Linked DNA regions of Homo sapiens: regions 2, 3, 4, 5, 6 and 7 are each linked to region 1. The links are contacts of gene promoters, found by promoter capture Hi-C in blood cells and fetal thymus (Javierre and others, 2016). All regions are on one chromosome and are shown on one strand. Each heading gives the region's core, a stretch centred on a gene start or on the middle of the fragment in contact. The rest is flanking DNA. Distances are from core to core; before and after follow the strand shown. Region 1 holds the start of OR2T4 (olfactory receptor family 2 subfamily T member 4). Region 2 overlaps SH3BP5L (SH3 binding domain protein 5 like). Region 3 has its middle 2.7 kb from the start of OR2T8. Region 4 has its middle 31 kb from the start of LYPD8. Region 5 has its middle 11 kb from the start of OR14I1. Region 6 overlaps OR14I1 (olfactory receptor family 14 subfamily I member 1). Region 7 has its middle 15 kb from the start of OR2T27.

Region 1 (2,624 bases), core at 73-2,572:
TCTATATGAACCCTTTTTCTTCCTCATTTCTCCCTCTCTCTCAATTTTATGCCTTATAACCTTTATCCTCTAAGTAGTATCATTATGTATTCCCAGAATATGAAAATATCCTATAGAATTAGAAAGTAGTTATGAACTTCAGTAACTGTAACATCAATATAATATGACTGAATAATGCATTTTGAAGTGAGACGGAGTGTAAATTGAAAAGTTTCTAGTACAGGAAAGCGATTTCTAAAAGAGGTGTGAAAATGAGATCAAACACCATGGCAGTCTTGGAGTCTGGGAAATAACACTGGTATAACATTCTCATATGTGAAGTGCAGAGAGAAGGAAAAGTAAATTACTCTCAAAATGGTCTACTCCATAGCTTTTTGAAAGGCAGGTTCCACTGTTAACATTTTCTTCAGAGCCCCCATGACATCCTTATTCCTAAGACTATAGATTAAAGGGTTCACCACTGGAGTGAGGATGGTATAGAAGACAGATACCATCATGTCCTTCTCAGGGGTGTGGTAGGAGCTGGGGAGCATGTAGGTGTAGATGGCAGCCCCATAGAAGAGGATGACCACAGTCAGGTGGGAGGAGCAGGTGGCAAAGGCCTTTTTCCGGCCCTCTGCTGAGTTCATCCCGTGGATGGTGAGGAGGATGAGTAAATAGGAGCTTGAAATGATCACCACAGGGATGAGGAGCATGAGGACACAGCACAAGTACATGAAAATCTCATAGAGTGAGGTGTCTGAGCAGGAGAGATTCAATACAGCAGGAACTTCACAGAAGAAATGATGAATCTCCCGGGATCCACGGAAGGGGAAGGTCATGGTGATGGGAGTGAATGTGAAGCCATCCACTGAGCCCAGGAACCAGCAGCCTGATGACAGGAAGAGACACACCCTATGGTTCATGAGGACAGGGTAACGGAGAGGATGGCAGATGGCCACGTAGCGGTCATAGGCCATGGTGGCTAGAAGGAAAAATTCTGAACCTGCTAGTGTCACGTAGAAGAACATCTGCATCCCACACTCAGGGGCTGAGATCTTATTCACACCCATGACCTGGTCCAGGAGCATCTTGGGCACAGTGACAGAAATGTACGCCATGTCCATGAGAGACAATTGACTGATGAAAAAGTACATGGGGGTGTGGAGGTGGGCGTCACAGTGTATCAGAAGGATCAGGACAGCATTTCCAGACAACGCCATCAGGAAAACCACAAAAATGACCACACAAAGTAGTGCTGGATGTTTGGATTGTCTGAAGAGTCCCAACAGGATGAAATCCGACCATCCAGTGTGGTTGGCCATCCAGGTGATATTGGCCATTGGATGTTTGGATTGTCTGAAGAGTCCCATCAGGATGAAATCCGACCATCCAGTGTGGCTGGCCATCCAGGTGATGTTGTCCATGAGGTTTCACCTAGGCCACAAAGGAAAGCTTGGGGTTAAAGTAATTTGAGCCTCTGAAACAAATTGTGTGTGTGTGTGTGTGTTCTAACCAAAGAAAGGCCCATGGGCCTGTAGATTTGGGTGTTATAAATTATCTGCAATTCAAAAAATTTACCAGGAACTAAGAATTCACAACTGTGGATCAAAAGGGTGATTTGTAGTGAAGTTGCCACAGTTCTGAGTCATGAGATTTCCCGATGAGAGTGTCTGTTATAAACAAGTCCTGGAAACTGGCAGTGTCACTGCCTTATGCAGACATGAATAGTGAATTATTGAAAACAAAGGAGAATTTTGTCCCCCTGTTTTTAGAGTTGTTTAGAGAAGTCTAAAGTGAATTACATTCTCTGGTTTAAGGATCCATCTGGAATCTTAAAAACTCCCAAAAGTGTATTCCATATAGGAATGATTTAGAACATGACTAAAATATCACTTGTGGAAAATCCATACCAAACATTTGCACCCTTCTACCCACAGTATTGGACAATGCTGTGAGGCTCTGTGGTTTCGTGGAGCAAAACCCCACACATCCCCATGAGCAAGCCAGGGTCCTCCTACACACCAGACTCCTCAGAAACCAGAGTCGCATGGGGTGAGGAGCCCAGGGACCGTGGCTGGACTGCAGGGTGGACCCAGCTTCCCCTCTACCTGCTATTCCTCTGTTTACTGCACATAAAAATAGATGGTAAGAAAAGGTTTGACCTCAGGGTTGATGAAGATTAAATGCAGAAAAGTAATGAAAGTGCTTAGAATATTACCAGTTACAAATGAACAAATACATACACTGTCAAAGAGTTAATATCTACACAAATTATTCTGCAGACTGTATTACTATAATCATCTTATGATATGAGCTTCATTACTTCAGTTTGCTGATTTTATCATTTAGTCAGACTTGTAAGAATTTGGATTTGATAATTTCTCTAGTCCCAGACAACTTGTATGTATACAGTTTACATTTATTTTATATAAATTTATAGATATGCATTTTTATATATGTGCAGATTTACAAATATAAGAATACATTGTATATGCATATTTACAAATAGAAATGCATATATTAATGTAAGGTATGTCTCTTATTTTCATGTTGAGCAGAGATTTATGCAGAATCCACCTTCTTTGTGACTAGTGCATGCTTCTCCAAGCTTAACTCCTTAAAGCTCCTGTCATTCGCATTAA
Region 2 (2,624 bases), core at 33-2,532, 450 kb before region 1:
TGGTGTGATCATAGCTCACTGTAACCTCAAACTCCTAGGCTCAAGTAATCCTCCTCCCTCAGCCTCACAAGTAGATGGGCTCACAGGCAGAAGCCACTGCGCCCAGCTTATTTTCTTATATTAGATGTACTATTATTTATTTAACCGATGTCCTATAACTGAAAAGTTAGGTTTGTTTTGTTTTTTGCTTGGTTGGTATGGCTATGATGACTGTCCCTGAGCACTTGTCTGATTACTTCCTTCAGCTTGCCTGCTGAACATGGAATTGATGGTCTCAAGGTCATCTTTTCTGTAAGACTCTGTCTATGTTGCTAACCACCTTACACTAAAATGGTTTGTGTTTTCCTTTGTTTTCCCTAGGGGAAAAGGCTAGCAGCCTTTGGGAGTGCTGGATTTCACACATCTACCCTCCACTGGCAAAATTTTTATTTCTTCTAGTCCATATCCTTATGAAATATTCTTTATAGAATGTTGCTTCCTTGGCATTTATCCTCAGCACAGTTTGGGAAATGAAGCCGACATTGCTAGTAGGCCTTCCTCCTTCTCTTATCCTCACGTCTATTATGGGTCTCCATGGGCAGCTGGGGTCCCTCAGGGTTCCCCATCCTGATATCCCTCTCCCCCCAGGCTCAGCAGGAGACACAGAAGGCAGCGCTGCGGTACGAGCGGGCCGTAAGCATGCACAACGCTGCTCGAGAAATGGTGTTTGTGGCTGAGCAGGGCGTCATGGCTGACAAGAACCGACTGGACCCCACGTGGCAGGAGATGCTGAACCATGCTACCTGCAAGGTGAGCCGGGCGGTGCCAGCAGGTCCCCTTCGCTGGTTCTCGTCCATCCTTTGCTATGTCTTTATCACCTCACCTCCTCATTCTTCCCTCTATTCTAGCCTTCTTTCAACTTTGATTCTGTTTCAGGCAAAACCTGTTCCTAGTTTTCTGTTCTGTTTGGCCTCCATTGCTTCCCATATTCCATTTCCCTCTGACTTAGAATGTCATCCCGGGCTCTTCTTGAACGTTTGCCTCCAGGTGTGGGACTAACCCAAACAATTCATCCCTGGTGGATACTGAGGATTCAACATTCACATTTTATTATGTTTAGCTGTGTGACTCCTCGCTTCTGTTTTCAGAGTCTGCTCCCTTTCCTGCTTTTGAGCTCTGACAGTACACCTCGAGTTTTGAAGTATAATTTATGTATCATTTCCAAGCTCCTGAAAGGGGACTGGGGAGCGGAAGGATCTCTGCCGTTGGCCCTGTCTGCCACCTTCAGCTTGCACAGGGCAGGTGTCAGCAACTCGAGGGGGTGTTTGTGGCTTGTGATTCTTCATCTGCCCCTCACACAGAACAGGCACCTCACTTCTACTCTAGAGCTCATGCAAATGAGAGCACACAGCACGGGGGGAGGGGTTAGGGGATGGTGTATAGTGTAGAGCTACACCTGAACAGGGAGCAGGTGAGGGCTCCAGCCGCTTTGTCTACCAGGACAAGTGGGCCAACTGTACAACACCCTGAGCAGAAGCACGCCAGAGCCCCATCCAACCTCGGCCCACTTGTCCTGGACGGTGCCCACATAGGGTGTGGAAACCTGGAGAACCCAGCGCACAGCTGTGGCTCCCCACACAGGCTCTTCTCACTCCCAGATCCCTAACCATTGGCGCTGAGGGCTCCCTGAAGAGAATGGCTGCTGCAGATGTGTGATGTGCTGACAGACATTCCCCTGATGCTCTCAAGTGGTTGAGTGGGCACCAGCATCCCTTTCCTGGCAGCAGCAAAGCTGAGTAGCCAGTGGTGCAGGTGACACTAGGCAAGAACATGGGGAAGACGTGGCTCAGAGGCATGTGCCTGTGATGTGGTCCTCGACGGTCAGGCAGCAGATCCAAGAGAGACAGAAATAAGCTGTCTTGAGGCTCATAGACCCCGTGTTCCCCTGCGTGTCTCGGGCTCTGTACACAGTTGGGGGTTTGCAGAGGATGTTCCTGTTTGGGTTCCCCCCAGGGCGTTGTTCAGATTGGCAGCCTGGGGCAGATGCCAGAGACTGAAGCATGGGTCCTGGCTCAGTGATGTGTCCTCTGGGCCAGGTGAATGAGGCGGAGGAAGAGCGGCTTCGAGGTGAGCGGGAGCACCAGCGAGTGACTCGGCTGTGCCAACAGGCTGAGGCTCGGGTCCAAGCCCTGCAGAAGACCCTCCGGAGGGCCATCGGCAAGAGCCGCCCCTACTTTGAGCTCAAGGCCCAGTTCAGCCAGATCCTGGAGGTAGCTGAGTGGGTGAGGGGGAGGAGGAATGGGTAGGTGGGGGTGCAGGCTGGAGGGGATGCTGGTCGGCCTCTCTGGGCCATCTTGGTGAGGTGGCCAGGGTGAGGCCTCCGGCTAGCGGTGGGGAAGGGTGGTGGCACACATGTTCCAAATGACCTTGCAGGAGTGAGAGGCAGGGATGGGGGCTGGTGATGGGGGCTGGTGACGGCGAGAACGTAGTTGGAAGAAGGGAGGTAAACAAGAGGAAAAGAACTGGTGGAAATCTGGGATGGGGAAGAAGAACCAGCCATTGGGTGAAAGGGAACAGTGGGGAGAGGATGAGGAAGCAGGAGCTGGTGGAGAGGAAGGCCTGAGAGGAAGGCTCTGGAAGGTGGG
Region 3 (2,624 bases), core at 61-2,560, 440 kb after region 1:
GCATAAAAATATAGCAATTGCAATTAATTAGCCGCTTAAATTGTGCCAGACTGGTTCATATGTTTTCAGAGAATAATCTCAACAACTTGCATGACTTTTCAGTTCAGGAAATACATTTTCTTATTATGAAGTTCCTACTATGGTTAAATAGTTTGTAAAATTTGATGTCATTAGCTTGTACCTTTTCAGTGAAAATAGATAATATTTCTATTCTTTATGTTTATGTGGAATAAAAATTCTTTATTTCCAGGTGTATAAAAATTATCAGTTTGTATCAGTCTAACTGGTCATCATGCCATAGCATTCAGATTATTTCACGAAATGATTAATTAAATGTGTTAAATAAAATTAGTAGATAACTGTATTTTTCTACGATGTGATAATATTAAATTATTTGCTTTATTGAAATTACTGTCTATATTTTTATGTTACAAAGCTAAGATAATTTGCCACTAATTAAAATGTTTATAAACCTACAAAAATGATTATTTGGGATAATTTTTTTTAAAAATTGGCCATGGATACAAAGAACAGTTAAATGAAAAATGAAGAATTAAATAATCTTGCTAATAAAATGTCTATAATTTCATTTAACAGAGGGTTGAAAATTCAAGATTGACTAGTGTAGAAAGAAGTATGATAAAGTATTACCCTGAAAAATAAATATTTTCCTTTTCTTTCTTCACTATAGCTTAGAAAGCTAGAGAATTTTGAACTATATTTTCTTCTGTCCCCATAGTTTCTTACTTAGAATGGTGATAAAATGTGGACATTTTTACTTTAAATCACACTGATCTCTTTTGCAATGCTAGTAGAAGGCACGTATATATCCCTTCCTTTTTTCTCATCAATAATTCGTCAAGTAATCACAGAACACTGAGAACAATGCCTCTAACATTCCATTCTGTGCTTTTCTGATCCCTGTTGCCAAAACTTAATAGTAAAACTGTAACTCTCCTCCCCATGATACTAAAATGATTAATCAATTTGTCCTGTCAGAAAATAAATTGGAAACAGCCAAATCATATATTTGACAAAATTGACAGGTTATTACAGGAATTTAACCTGATGACTGTGTCAGCTAGCAACTTTTGATTCTTCAGGTTGTAGAATGGATAATAGAATTTTATTTGTAAAATACGTAAAGATATATAGCTGTGAATTATCTAGAGTTCAAACTTTACAGGAAAATTATTAAATATTAAGTGATTAGTATTTACAGAATCACAGATTTTCTACTTACAGAAGATAAAAGTGATGACTCCTCCCAAAAGGCTGGATCCTGTCTGAGCAGCATCGAGAAAAGCTCTTCCAGCCTGGCTGTGTTGGCTTCACTTGTATCAGTGTCTACAGTCTACTGTTTAGGGGTGTGACCTAAATCAACTCTGATTAATAAACCAGAGAGGCATGAGCTTGCCACTTTGGCTGCCAAAGATGTTTAATTTTCAGGGACATTTTATAAATACCCATAATTTTAATATACTTCCAAAATGCTTTTGGAAAGCTGCGATTTATTGAAAGAAGAGAGAATTATTTAGGAGCAAAAATGAAATGTAAATAGATGTGCATGGAAAAGATGATGTTGAAAAATACATTAAGGGGCGAGGTAATGTGGCTCTGGCGTTACTTGTGTGTAGTTTAATAGGATGGGAAGATTAAACAGTGTGATATTGAAAGACCAGCTCTTGTCAAAGAAAGTAGTTGAAATAAAAAGAAACCGTGGTAGAATCCATGGTAGTTTCCTTATTGAACTAAACTTGACAGAATCTCTGCTGCTTTATAAGTATCAATATTTTTGCATCTGTGTGATATAATTGTATTTTTTAATATTTTGTGTGTTTGTATCTATGTAATAAAATCAGTGATAGCAACAATAGTAACAACAGATTGTATTCACTGTGCCAGGCAGTTTGCGGTTTGATTTTATCTGGGGCTGCCTTCTATGATTGTGTTATTTGTTCTTAATATTTTCTACTGTCAAGCACCCTTGGGATCCTGGCTCCAGCTTTTGCAAGTTTAGTGGACTCAGGCTTCACTGCCAGTATATATAAATCTCAGCCTCCAAAACTGTAAAAAAAAATATATTTAAACAAAATTTCTCATGGAATAGATCATGGGGAAAGCTGCTCCTAGACAAAACGTGAGATATTGTAATTGCTTATTCCAAGTGAAGTTGTAATCACCATTGTTTGTGTTTAGAAGGCAAGCCCATCATAGATTTTAGTGACACCTCTGCCTTTGCATGTTGTATCTTACTGAAGTGGCTAATCCTACTCTGATTTAGAATGTTATTGATCACATGCAGTCTACAGTTAAAGTCAGGTTATCTTATTTCCTGTGGAAAAAAACAAATTCCTGGCTGAGTGCAAGCAGTAGGTTGTAGATATTTAGTATATCAAGTAACAAATAAAACTTTCAATGAAAGTTTACCTATCACTTATGATAAAAGTTTTATCTTTCCATGTTCTGAACACTGATGTCTCTGGGGTCCCAGGAGTATCAATACAATGGTGTAGTAACACAGGTGGCTACTGTCCAATGGGGGAAGTAGCCTTTTGCCTTAAGTAGATAAATCTCTCTGAAGGACTCTAGGGTGTGTGAGAATTAAGGCCAGACAAGCTGTG
Region 4 (2,624 bases), core at 49-2,548, 430 kb before region 1:
CTTCATCTCTTTGACCTGCGTCTATCCATATGTTATTAAGGGTGGGTAGCAATAAAACTTCTTGCCTGGGATGACAGTGATTAAGGAACAGCTTTGCCCCTGCCCAGGCTTCTCTTCCTTCCTGCCATTTTCTTTAGAAGGAGAAAATTGGATGTGCCACCCTTCACCATTCTAACCTTTCTCAAAAGACCCTTCTGAAGAAAATTATCCATGAACAGCCCAGAAGATTAGGACATTTGAATGTGCCCCATGTTGATGAATGCACCTGCTCAGTTGTATTCCACATTTGTGTTTCAACTGTTTCCACTCCTGGTCTGTGTCCCACGTCTTGAGGATTTAGAGAGTAGAAACATACCTTTTACTTTTGTGTAAGGTACATGCTGTGGCATAGAACCTTCATGGTCTTTAGCCAGCAGTGTCGATAGCAAGTGAGAGAAAATAGCTGTGTCACATATGTGAGTCAGGATAGGCTAGGTAATGGTGCTATCGCAAGTGACCCCAAGGTGCCAGAAGCTAAAACATTAAATATTTATTTCTTGTTTATGTTATCTGAGTAAGCTGCATTTCTACTCTGTGTCATCTTAACCTGGGACCCAGCTGGTGGAGAAGACTCTGCATGAAGAATCACTAGTTGTCATGTGGAGTGAAAAGGGAGCACCGCAAACCACAGACTATTCCTGAAAGCTTCTGCTACAAAGGGACACACATCACTGCCGCTCACGTTGCACTGATGGGAGCAAGTCATTTGACCATGTCTGACATCAATGAGGCAGGAGGGTATAATGTTCCCCAGGGAGGGTCAGTGTTTCTCTGGATATATTAATATCTTCTCCCAGACCCTGCATGGATACAAGAGCACACTCCTGGATATTCATCTCAGAACTGGGGAGATGGGACAGTGGCCAGGGATGGCAGTTGGTGGGGGTGAGAGCAACAGGCATTAGAGAGAACTAGGAAACCCAGATCAATTGTCATTCAGCTTCAGCCAAATTTTATATGTTTGCTGAGCCTCAGACTTCTTATCTGAAAAAGAGGGGATTGGATTAGACAAGTGTTAATGTTGATGCCAGCGGGAGCTGATTACAAGTATGTGGGAAAACCCAGATCCATTGGGAGGATAACTCAAGATAGCATAACATAACTGAGAACTCTCAGAAACTCTTCTCCATGCCCTCGCCACATGTGACATAGGGGTCCCTCCCCCTAGACCCTGGAATCTCAATCTGTCTTTATACCTCAGCTTATTCTTCACCCTAGCTTGGTGTCCCCTTTCTTCCTTTTCTGCTTCCTCACAACCTGTTTGTATTCTTCCTCAGAGTTGCCACAGCAAGAAGAATATCTTACAGTTTTCTGCACTCATGTCTTATCTTCCCAAATGCCCATATCCTTCTTGAAGGTTATGTCTACGTCTTTGACGTCTTCTCTTGAGCCTCCTGGCCTATTCTTCCCCACCTCTTACCGTACCTTTCACAGAGCTGAACTCAGTTGTAATTATTCAAGCACCAGCTACTGTTTGCATACATTATCTTGTTTAGTTTTCATGACATTGCTGTTAAAATATATTATGTTCCTCATTTACCCTGTAAGTTTTCTGTCAACCCAGTGAAATGTCAAATGTTTAGTACACACAATAAGGGACCAATAAGCAGCAGCTACTATGATTTTTGTTACTATTACTGATGAGGAAACAGATTTGCAAAGGCCGAGCAATATGCACTTGTTGCACAGTTAGTACGTGGGCACTGAGTTTGAATCCATCAGAGTAGTCATCAGAGCTAATCACTAAATGTTTATTTCTTTCCCCTCCTGAATGTATGTTGGATTGCACTTCCCCACCCTCTGTGTGTCGCAAAATGACTTTGACACTAGCTCTGGCAAGAAGTGACATTTGCCACTTTTTAGGGGAAGCTTTAGAAGCCACTTTAGGAGGTTCACCTCATCCTCTTTCTACTGCAGTTGTGAAAATGAACTCATGTGGTAAGGTAAAGCTCTACCAGTCAGAGGTGCTGAGTCATAAGGATGAGCAGGGTGCTTCTGTCAATGCCAATCAGACATGGAGCGTGGGGGAGACATTGTTAGGCCACTGGAACTTAGGGTGTGGAGGTTTCTACGGCAACATAATCTAATCCATGTGACTGATACACCAAGACATGATTGTACAATTATTGACATGTTCTTTTGGAAATCTGTGGCTATTAACTCCCGTCTCATCCACCAATCAGAGCTGATGGATGCGTTCTTTTTTATTTCTGTCAATACTGACCTTTTCATTAACAAAACCCTTTAACAATCAGGTAGTTGTTGTCAACAGGGAGGTGCAATCCCCTGGGAAGTGTTTTGGTGATTTATGGAGGTGTTTTAGCATGATTACAATTATTATTAGTGGCAGTGGTGACTCATGCAATTTCATGGGCAGGAAATAGGGATGCTAGACATCTTGTAACTTTGGGGATGGTCCTGAACAACAAAAGATTGTCCCAATCTTTCACAGACTGTAGAATGTCTAGGTGGACAAAAGTTATAATGATTGGGGCTTAGAACCTAAATCAGTCTTACATACGAATGCAAAGCATCTGGCAACATAGCTTTTGGGCTGAATTTTCCAAGAATGCAGCTACGCATAT
Region 5 (2,624 bases), core at 32-2,531, 350 kb before region 1:
AATGTAATAACCTTAAATAAAAAAATTCTTTTAATTTTGGTTTTTCCCCTAAGCAAACAAAAACTTAATAATAATAATAATAGCATAGAAATTGCTTTCACAAACCCTAAAATCTGTTATGACAATTACCAAAAGGCAAAAGAAAAGACCTGCTGTACTGCATACAGTATTCTGTTGGAAGAAAACATTTCCTTTAGACCTTTAAGAAAACATTGTTAGCATCAGGCCTCAACAAACAGAACTTGAGGAAAAGAATTTATATAAGCTGAAAAATGAGCTGGAGAGCATTACTATTTCTCACCCTTTAAAACTGCAGAGAAAACCAAAATGGCAAGATGCAATAAAATTTGAACTTTTGGTTAAAAAAATTAAATTCTTTCATAATTGAGAGTAAATCAATCCCCTAAGAAAATTTTATCATTCTAACTAATTAGTGTGTGTTTCCTTTTTTTACTTCAAGCCCAATCTCTAGATAGACTATCATAATTTTATTTTAATTAATAGACAACTTGATCATATAACAGTTTTTTTTAAGTAAATCCTCTTACTGTCACTTATGCAGACCATTCACGACATGCTTGAACGTTCAAATTCTTTTTTTTTTTTTTTTTTTTTTTCTCCTGAATATCCCTCTTCCTTAAACAACCAGTCATTTTATTCTAGGACTAAATATACCATACAAGATTCTTTCTCATATAAAATTATTTCTCTTTAAGCTTCTTACCAAAAAATACGCCCAAAGGGGTGAATGGTGCCTTTGTTCTGAATTCTTTAAAGGGGTTCAAGTCACTAGAAGTCTTCTCTAGATTTTGTAGTACTGCATATGGCAAAGGGGGAAGGAGGTATAGTGTGAAAGAAAAGTGAATGAAAAAATATTTGTTTTCTAAGACAGGAAGCAAGCTCAGAAACCAAGCACGTGTTTGTTTTTTTCCCTTCCTGTGCAGTGGAGAGGAATTTTAGCCAAATTAGAGAGGCTTTGTTACCCAAAATTTGAAATTCTCACTCAGATTTGACCAAATCTGATGGAAGAAAGTCTGGAAAAAACAATAAAAAAACCCAACAATATGATTACTGGGCACTCTAATGGTAAAGAGAAATTAGGAACAGCTGGTTGTTAACTTACTTAGGGATGGGTCTCAGGCTGAAGACAGCCTCTACCATCCTAGAGTCAGGAATAAAACTCAAACTCATCTTCCCTGTTGGGAGCGAGCTCCAACTCCATAGAGGAATTACCTGCCTTCCATCATCATGGAAGCAAGAAATCTTGCCTTCCTTGTTGGAAGCAAGTAAAACTTCAAAAAATGGAGTTGTACGGCAAAATAAACTTCAGATCTTAACCAAATTTTGGGAGATCAGGTATTCTCTGTGAAGCAGTATTGTTTGTCTGGGGTAATACCTGAGGTTTGTTGCCTGACACCAAGGAAATCAAGGACACAAACACACCAGAGTGAAGTTAAGTGTGGAAGTTTAATAGGCTAGAGAAAGAAAAAAAACTCTCTCTCCAGAGAGAGAAGGGGTTCCAAGTGGGTCTTCTGGTTTCGTGATGAAATGCATGTGGTTTTATGGATTAGCTTGAGGAGGCATAGTGTGATTTACACAGGAGACGAGAGATTGGGAGGAGCAGGTGTGCCATTTACATAGCACACAAAGAAGCTGGCAGCCCCATCCTAATCTTTTATTATGCAGATGGGTCCCCTACCTGGCTGGCACCATGTTGTCTGTTCCTTTACTGTACATGTGATTGAAAGAGAAAAGGGAAGATGGAGCCTCCATGTTGAACATGCCTGGCCCCCAGGTAGCCTTTTCCTATTGGCACAACTGCCAGCACTCACCCATGCAAGCTTCTAGCTTGCTTTTCCATGTCTGCAGCTTGATTTTTCAGGCTGCTCTTTGTTAGAAAAGAAATGATTTGGGGTCTGCTTTTTATTAAAAGCAAAACCTTGCTAAGGACTCTCTTACCCTCATTAACTGCCTAAATAATTTCTTTCTAGCTCCTGTATCATCTGGAGGGGGTGCTCCCAGACCTCAGCAAATTGTCCTATTGGTTTGAGCCATAAAGTTAGCTCATGCGGGTACCAAGCACCAATAGGAGATTTTTCAAAGGTCAAGGGGCATCTCCATTCAGAATCCCTCCACAGTTAACAAAATGTGAATCCTGTATATCTGAGATAGGTCTCAGTTAATTTAAAAAGTTCATTTTGCCAAGGTTGAGGATGCACACAAAGGACATAGCCTCAGGTTGTCCTGAGGACATGTGCCCAAGGCGCTCAGAGCGCAGTTTGGTTTTATACATTTTAGGGAGACATGAGACATCAATCAACATATGTAAGATGAACATTGGTTCAGTCTGGAAAGACAGGACAACTCGAAGCAAAGGCAGGACAACTCGAAGCAGGGAGGGAACTCCCAGGTCATAGGTAGATAAGAGACAAATGGTTACATTCTTTTGAGTTTCTGACTAGCCCCTCCAAAGACCAAATGCAATCAGATATGCATTTATCTCAGTGAGCAGAGGGGTGACTGAATAGAATAGGAGGCAGGTTTGCCCTAAGCAGTTCCCAGCTTGACTTTTCCCTTTAGCTTAGTGATTTTGGGGCCCCAAGATTTATTTTCCTTTCACAAAG
Region 6 (2,624 bases), core at 82-2,581, 330 kb before region 1:
AAACACTCTTAAGCCCAATATTCCAGTAAATGGTTTTTTTTTTTTTTTTTAAAAAGTTCTGGACTTTGATTTCTGTTAAAATGCAGAGCATACCAGGCAAGTTAATAGCACTGTTCTTAGCTATTCATAGTGAGAGGAACGACGATTTTCCCATCCTTTTTTTTTTTTTAAATGAGCTTTGATTGAGAAAAATCAGTGGGGCTGGGTTTGGGCTCTAGAGGAGATAAGATAGGATAGAGTGGAGAAGACAGAGGATGGGGAAAGGAGAAGAGAACTTGAAGATTGGAAGCTCCAAGATAAACTTCCACATTTTACCTAAGGCCTGTCCTCAAAATAAATAAAACAAGACTTTCTGTAATGTTTTATTAGGTGTGGAAAGCAGAAGAGAAGAAAATATATCAAGAAAAAACTAATTTTATGTAAAATTATGCTGAACTCTTTTATCTTATCAAAAATCCTAAGTTGGCTCATAATGAATTCTTACTAAGTGGTAACTATTTTTACTGTGATGCTGGTCCACCAGTATGGGGCAGGGGGAAAGGACAGGTGGGTGGTGAGTCTATTTTCAGTCTGCCCTTCTCTTTCTCATCAAAGGAAAGATGAGAACTTTGAGAGGCTGAGGGAACCAGGAAAGGTGCAAGGAGGTGGCCAGGAATAGTCAATGCTCCTGGCCGTGAATCAGTACACCACCCAGGTGACGTGGGAGCAGGAACAGTCAGTGCTCCTGGCCGTGAATTAGTACACCACCCAGGTGACGTGGGAGGCTGGCTTGGGAGGTGATGCAGGATGCCCTGGCAGCAATGGGAGAAATGTTAAAATGATTATGTGGCACTAACTGAATGACTCCTCCCGATAAGCAGACCCAGAACATCTTACTTCTGTGAACAACCAGGGAGAGTTAGAGGCTGCTCACACAGTACCCTATAACCTTCAGGGAAATCGGGGAAGTAGAACTACTTGGATGAGGGCTCATGATTCACGTTTCACTGGTGAACATTTTCTCTCCCCACAATTCTCCCAACATGAAGTGGTCTCTGGAGAAAGACAGACAAACATTAAAGCTCTCTTTAATGAGAGCTTATTACATGCCAGGCATTGTGTCAGCCCTTTACTAGCTCACATGTTCCTTACAACTATAATAGGCAGGAACCAATATTCTTAGTACTCTAATAAGGATACCTAAGAACAGATAAGCTCAGCTGCTTTCCTGAGGCCAGGCAGTCAGTTAAGTGGTTGATCAGAAGGCAACACTCAGGACTGTGTCCCCAGCACTGTTCTGTAGACTGTAAGCATTATGAGGGCAGGAGCCGTGTCTGCTCTTTCCTTATGCCGTGCTGATGAGTACACTGCCCAACAAAGAAAGGTGATTGGAGGTCTGCAGAATGCAAAGGGGAATGTGGCTGGGAACGCGAGAATGAAGGCAGAAATGCCGGAATAAAGGCTGGACTGGGGTAGAGAAAGCAGGTGGGGATTCAGAAATGCGGGTGGGAATCAGAGCAGGGATGTGGGAATGCGGAAACGCAGGTGGGAACGATGGGGAGAAAGTGGCAACGTTGGGGGATGCAGTTGGGAATGCAGGAATGAGGGTGGAAATGTGGGAATGCAGGCTGGAAGAGTGGAGAGTACAGGAATGCAGGAGGGAATTCACGAATGCAGCAGGAACCTGGGAATGCGGGAATGCAGAGAGCGACGCTGCGGGAAATGCGGGAGGACCCCAAGCCATCCGCTCACCTGTGAAGAAGGGCATGAAAGTAAGGCTGCAGGCCAAGAGGAGCCTGCCCGCCACCGAGGGACGCGTGGCTGAGGCTGCGGCCGGCCCCGTCGCTCCGTCTGGAAGAGAGGAGCCAGTGAGCTCAGTTCCGCGAAAGGGACACGCCCAGGCGGCCGGGCCCGCGCTCCCGCGCCACGCGAATGGCCTTTCCGCTGCTGGGCGAGCGCCCCTCACAGCGCCCCCGGATGCTGGGTGGGCCGCGCTGTGAGCTCGGCCTCTGGAGGCACCTGGGACTCGGAAACACTGCCTAGCCTAGAGACTTGTAGGCCCGAGAGAGCCTCTGGCCTGTCCGCTCCTTTCCACAGCGCGCTGTGGGCCCGCGGGAGCAGCTGGACCGGCAGCTGCGTCCTGAGGTGGGCGGGGTGGCTTGGTGAACCCGTACCTGACGCCGGGCGGTCCGGGACAGGCGGGTTGGCCGGGCTAGGCCGGAGGGCACTGCGCATGCGTCGGCCTCCACAGTCCCTTTGGCCTGCCCCATTGGTCCTCACTTCCCGCTCTTCCCGCCCTCTGGGAGCCTTGGCCAATGAGATCCTGGTGGCTCCCGGCTCACGTGACTGGAGAAAGCCTGGTGGGCTAGTTCCACAGTTCTGACGATTGGAAGAACTTGGAGGAGCTGGAATGTCTGTTTTTCCGATTCTTTGGTTCTCACCCCACCCAATTAAAGATATGCTATTGTGCCTCACCCTCTTCCCTACCTAGTCTAAGCATTTTTGAGGAAAGGGTACCTATATACTTAATTCTCTGACGGGAACATTCTACCCTACCAATACCCTCCAAGTCATCAATGCATCTAGTGCAATTCTGGCACCTCAGAATATTTTCTAACATACTCACACCTCCTTGAGACTGAACA
Region 7 (2,624 bases), core at 49-2,548, 310 kb before region 1:
GGGGACCCTCCTGCCAGCGCAGACTCCCTGCAGAACCTAAGGTGGACCAGTGGGGACCCTTCTGCCAGCGGGGACTCCCTGCAGAGCCTCAGGTGGACCAGTGGGGACACTTCTGCCAGTGTGGATTCCCTGCAGAGCATGAGGTGGCACAGGACATTACATGATGAGGGAGCTGAGCAGTCTGATGTGCTAGCCAAGATCTCTCTTCTTCTTATAAAGTTAATCTCACTTCTATGATAATCCATTAATCCATGAATTAATTAATTCATTTATGAGAGCAGAGGCCTCACAACCAAATCACCTCTTAAAGGCCCCACATCTGAATACTGCTACATAAAAAATTAATTTTTTTAGAGTGTCATTTTGGTTTTAATCCACAAATTATTTTTCAAAATTTCTGTGGGTATATGTTAGGTGTATATATTTGTGGAATACATGAGATGTTTTGATACAGGCATGCAGTGTGAAATAAGCCCATCATGGAGGATGCGGCATTTATCTTCTTAAGCATTTATCCTTTGCATTACAAACAATCCAATTACATAGGTTCAGAAGTACTTGTGTAGGTGTCATATAGGTAAATTGCATGTCACAAGGGATTGGTGTACAGATTATTTCATCTTCCAAGTAATAAGCATAGTACCCTATAGGTAGTTTTTCTATTTGTGTATTTTTAATATTAAATCCCAATCTCTAGAAACACTAATACAAATAATTCTTTTTAAGTTATCGACAACTTAGTCACATACAAAATTGTTTCACAATGAGCAGGTCTATACAAACCTATCCAAAGTTGGAGGAAGCTGAGATGCTGAAGATAGAGGCTGATAAATACAGTTTCTTAGGCAGAAACAATTAATAGGGACTTATGAACAGAAGCCATGTGTGTGTCTCAGGCAGCAGTGAGATGAGATGGCAAATTCCTGTGCCATTAACCCCAAAACCCAGGACTTATATGCCATAGGGAAGGAATGATTCAGAAGGCATGTGTAGGACAATTGAAGTATGATAACATAAAAGTTGTTTGACCTAAGGGCAGGATTTATAATAAGTACCTGTTCTTACACGAGGAGCAATAAATAAACTGGAAATCTTAAAGGCCTTCCCCCCTGGAGTTAATCAGAAGCCAATAGGGCAGATCACCATTCAAGATGGAGTTACTTGAGCCTCCCATCTAAGAAAGAGTAGCTTTAGTCTCCAAAAACTTTTCTTTCATAAATTCTCTTTATAAACCTTATCATATCTTACACAGACTATTTATGACATACTTGGACTTTCTGTTTTGTCCAAAATTTCCCTCTTAAATAATGAGTTGTTTTATTTTAGAACTACATTTACTATACAAGTCTCTTTCTCATACAAAATTATACTTTTTACCCATTTTTAAAAATAAATACATCTTTGGATTTGTATAATAGCCTTTGAATTTGACAAAGATTATTTTCCTTTTAATAAGAACATATTTTTATGTCTTTATTATAATTTCTTTTCCATAAAAATATTTACTTTGGTACTCTCTAAATACAGAATTATATATTAACTAGAATTTTTATTCTTAGAACCTTAAATTTTTGTGAAAACCTAGGAAGTAGTAAATCTTGAATTGTCTGTCATATATCAGTATTTTATAGATGAGAACCATTTTATATTATTTTAGAAATATGTTTTTCTGTTTTTTAAATTAGAAATGATCCAGACACTTAATGAGTATTATTTACTTTAACTTTAAGATTTTAAATTATATGACAAGTTCATTTATAAGCATTTATGCCATTAAAGCTACCTAATTTATTTTTTAAAACAGTTTTCCTAGGTTACTTACAAAAACTGACATATTAGACAAAGCTAGTCATCATTAAAGTTATTTTTCAGCTAACCATTCTTATAGGCTGTGAATATTTCAGGTGTTTACCTACATAAGAACCAAATGTTAAATATATGTTTATTTGATTTTTTTTTGGCCAACCACTAAGGTTTTACCTATTTTCAATAAATCAACAGTATTAAATGTCTTATTTATAAAAAATTACACAATGATCATTAAGGGATGGGTTTTAAAGTTTTATAACCTTCATGACAAAGTTTGGTACCTTATAATACAAACACCGCTAAATATAAAACTATTTCACCAATAAATCCAGACAAAAATGTATGCTGACAATTCTGAAGGCATTTCAAATTTTATTTTACTAATAATTATAAAGCCAGCTTATTTATTGAAGATTTACTTGTCATGTGAACTTGAAGAGCATTTGGACTTTATGAGTAATCCTTTATTTTTAAGCCCATTTGATACCTTGCAGTTACAACATATAAGAAAATACATGTACATGTAACATAAACACAACTCAACATAGATACACAGATACAAAGATCCCATAGGTTTTATTTCAGAACTCTAGTCACAAGACAGCAATACAGATTCACCAGCTTGCAAAAGATGGTTTAATTTAAACAATGGGTTTTATCTCAAAACCAGTAGAAAAGCAACAGTACATTTAAAACAGAAAAATAAAATAGAGAAATTGAGAATTTAGGAGATGCTATATTTAATTCTATAGTTGCAGGTCAACTTTGAGCTCTGAATTTACCCATCAGTTTAAAAATGTGCCAGAACAGACTAT

Evidence for each region. Contacts are between HindIII fragments. The CHiCAGO score rates a contact against its expected background, and 5 or more counts as called.
Region 2: a contact is called between a fragment that was not itself captured here and the fragment with the promoter of OR2T4 in region 1, in 2 of 17 cell types (naive CD8 T cells and naive CD4 T cells). The highest score is 7.4, in naive CD8 T cells.
Region 3: a fragment that was not itself captured here is called in contact with the fragment with the promoter of OR2T4 in region 1 in 1 of 17 cell types (M2 macrophages); the score reaches 5.3 in M2 macrophages.
Region 4: a contact is called between a fragment that was not itself captured here and the fragment with the promoter of OR2T4 in region 1, in 6 of 17 cell types (naive CD4 T cells, total CD4 T cells, activated CD4 T cells and 3 more). The highest score is 11.1, in naive CD4 T cells.
Region 5: a contact is called between a fragment that was not itself captured here and the fragment with the promoter of OR2T4 in region 1, in 5 of 17 cell types (naive CD4 T cells, non-activated CD4 T cells, naive CD8 T cells and 2 more). The highest score is 8.1, in naive CD4 T cells.
Region 6: a contact is called between a fragment that was not itself captured here and the fragment with the promoter of OR2T4 in region 1, in 4 of 17 cell types (naive CD4 T cells, naive CD8 T cells, activated CD4 T cells and 1 more). The highest score is 7.1, in naive CD4 T cells.
Region 7: a fragment that was not itself captured here is called in contact with the fragment with the promoter of OR2T4 in region 1 in 4 of 17 cell types (non-activated CD4 T cells, naive CD4 T cells, naive CD8 T cells and 1 more); the score reaches 7.2 in non-activated CD4 T cells.

The regions. Positions count from the first base shown.
Region 1 is chr1:248,360,363-248,362,986 of GRCh38, reverse strand. It overlaps OR2T4 (olfactory receptor family 2 subfamily T member 4), which reads right to left and starts at 1,322. Exons shown (of 1, transcript NM_001004696.2): 1 at 360-1,322. The coding sequence starts at 1,322. The coding sequence ends at 360. The HindIII fragment of the contact is 1,770 bases long and covers 1-1,436 here.
Region 2 is chr1:248,812,614-248,815,237 of GRCh38, reverse strand. It overlaps SH3BP5L (SH3 binding domain protein 5 like), which reads left to right. Exons shown (of 7, transcript NM_030645.3): 5 at 628-789; 6 at 2,076-2,249. Among named protein-coding and RNA genes, the nearest start is that of SH3BP5L, 12 kb to the left of the region's middle. The HindIII fragment of the contact is 6,170 bases long and covers 1-2,624 here.
Region 3 is chr1:247,916,286-247,918,909 of GRCh38, reverse strand. No RefSeq gene overlaps it. Among named protein-coding and RNA genes, the nearest start is that of OR2T8, 2.7 kb to the left of the region's middle. The HindIII fragment of the contact is 3,832 bases long and covers 1-2,624 here.
Region 4 is chr1:248,785,680-248,788,303 of GRCh38, reverse strand. No RefSeq gene overlaps it. Among named protein-coding and RNA genes, the nearest start is that of LYPD8, 31 kb to the right of the region's middle. The HindIII fragment of the contact is 1,224 bases long and covers 687-1,910 here.
Region 5 is chr1:248,712,382-248,715,005 of GRCh38, reverse strand. No RefSeq gene overlaps it. Among named protein-coding and RNA genes, the nearest start is that of OR14I1, 11 kb to the right of the region's middle. The HindIII fragment of the contact is 1,125 bases long and covers 719-1,843 here.
Region 6 is chr1:248,691,326-248,693,949 of GRCh38, reverse strand. The region is part of intron 3 of OR14I1 (olfactory receptor family 14 subfamily I member 1); the gene reads left to right. Among named protein-coding and RNA genes, the nearest start is that of OR14I1, 10 kb to the left of the region's middle. The HindIII fragment of the contact is 9,246 bases long and covers 1-2,624 here.
Region 7 is chr1:248,668,811-248,671,434 of GRCh38, reverse strand. No RefSeq gene overlaps it. Among named protein-coding and RNA genes, the nearest start is that of OR2T27, 15 kb to the right of the region's middle. The HindIII fragment of the contact is 4,700 bases long and covers 1-2,624 here.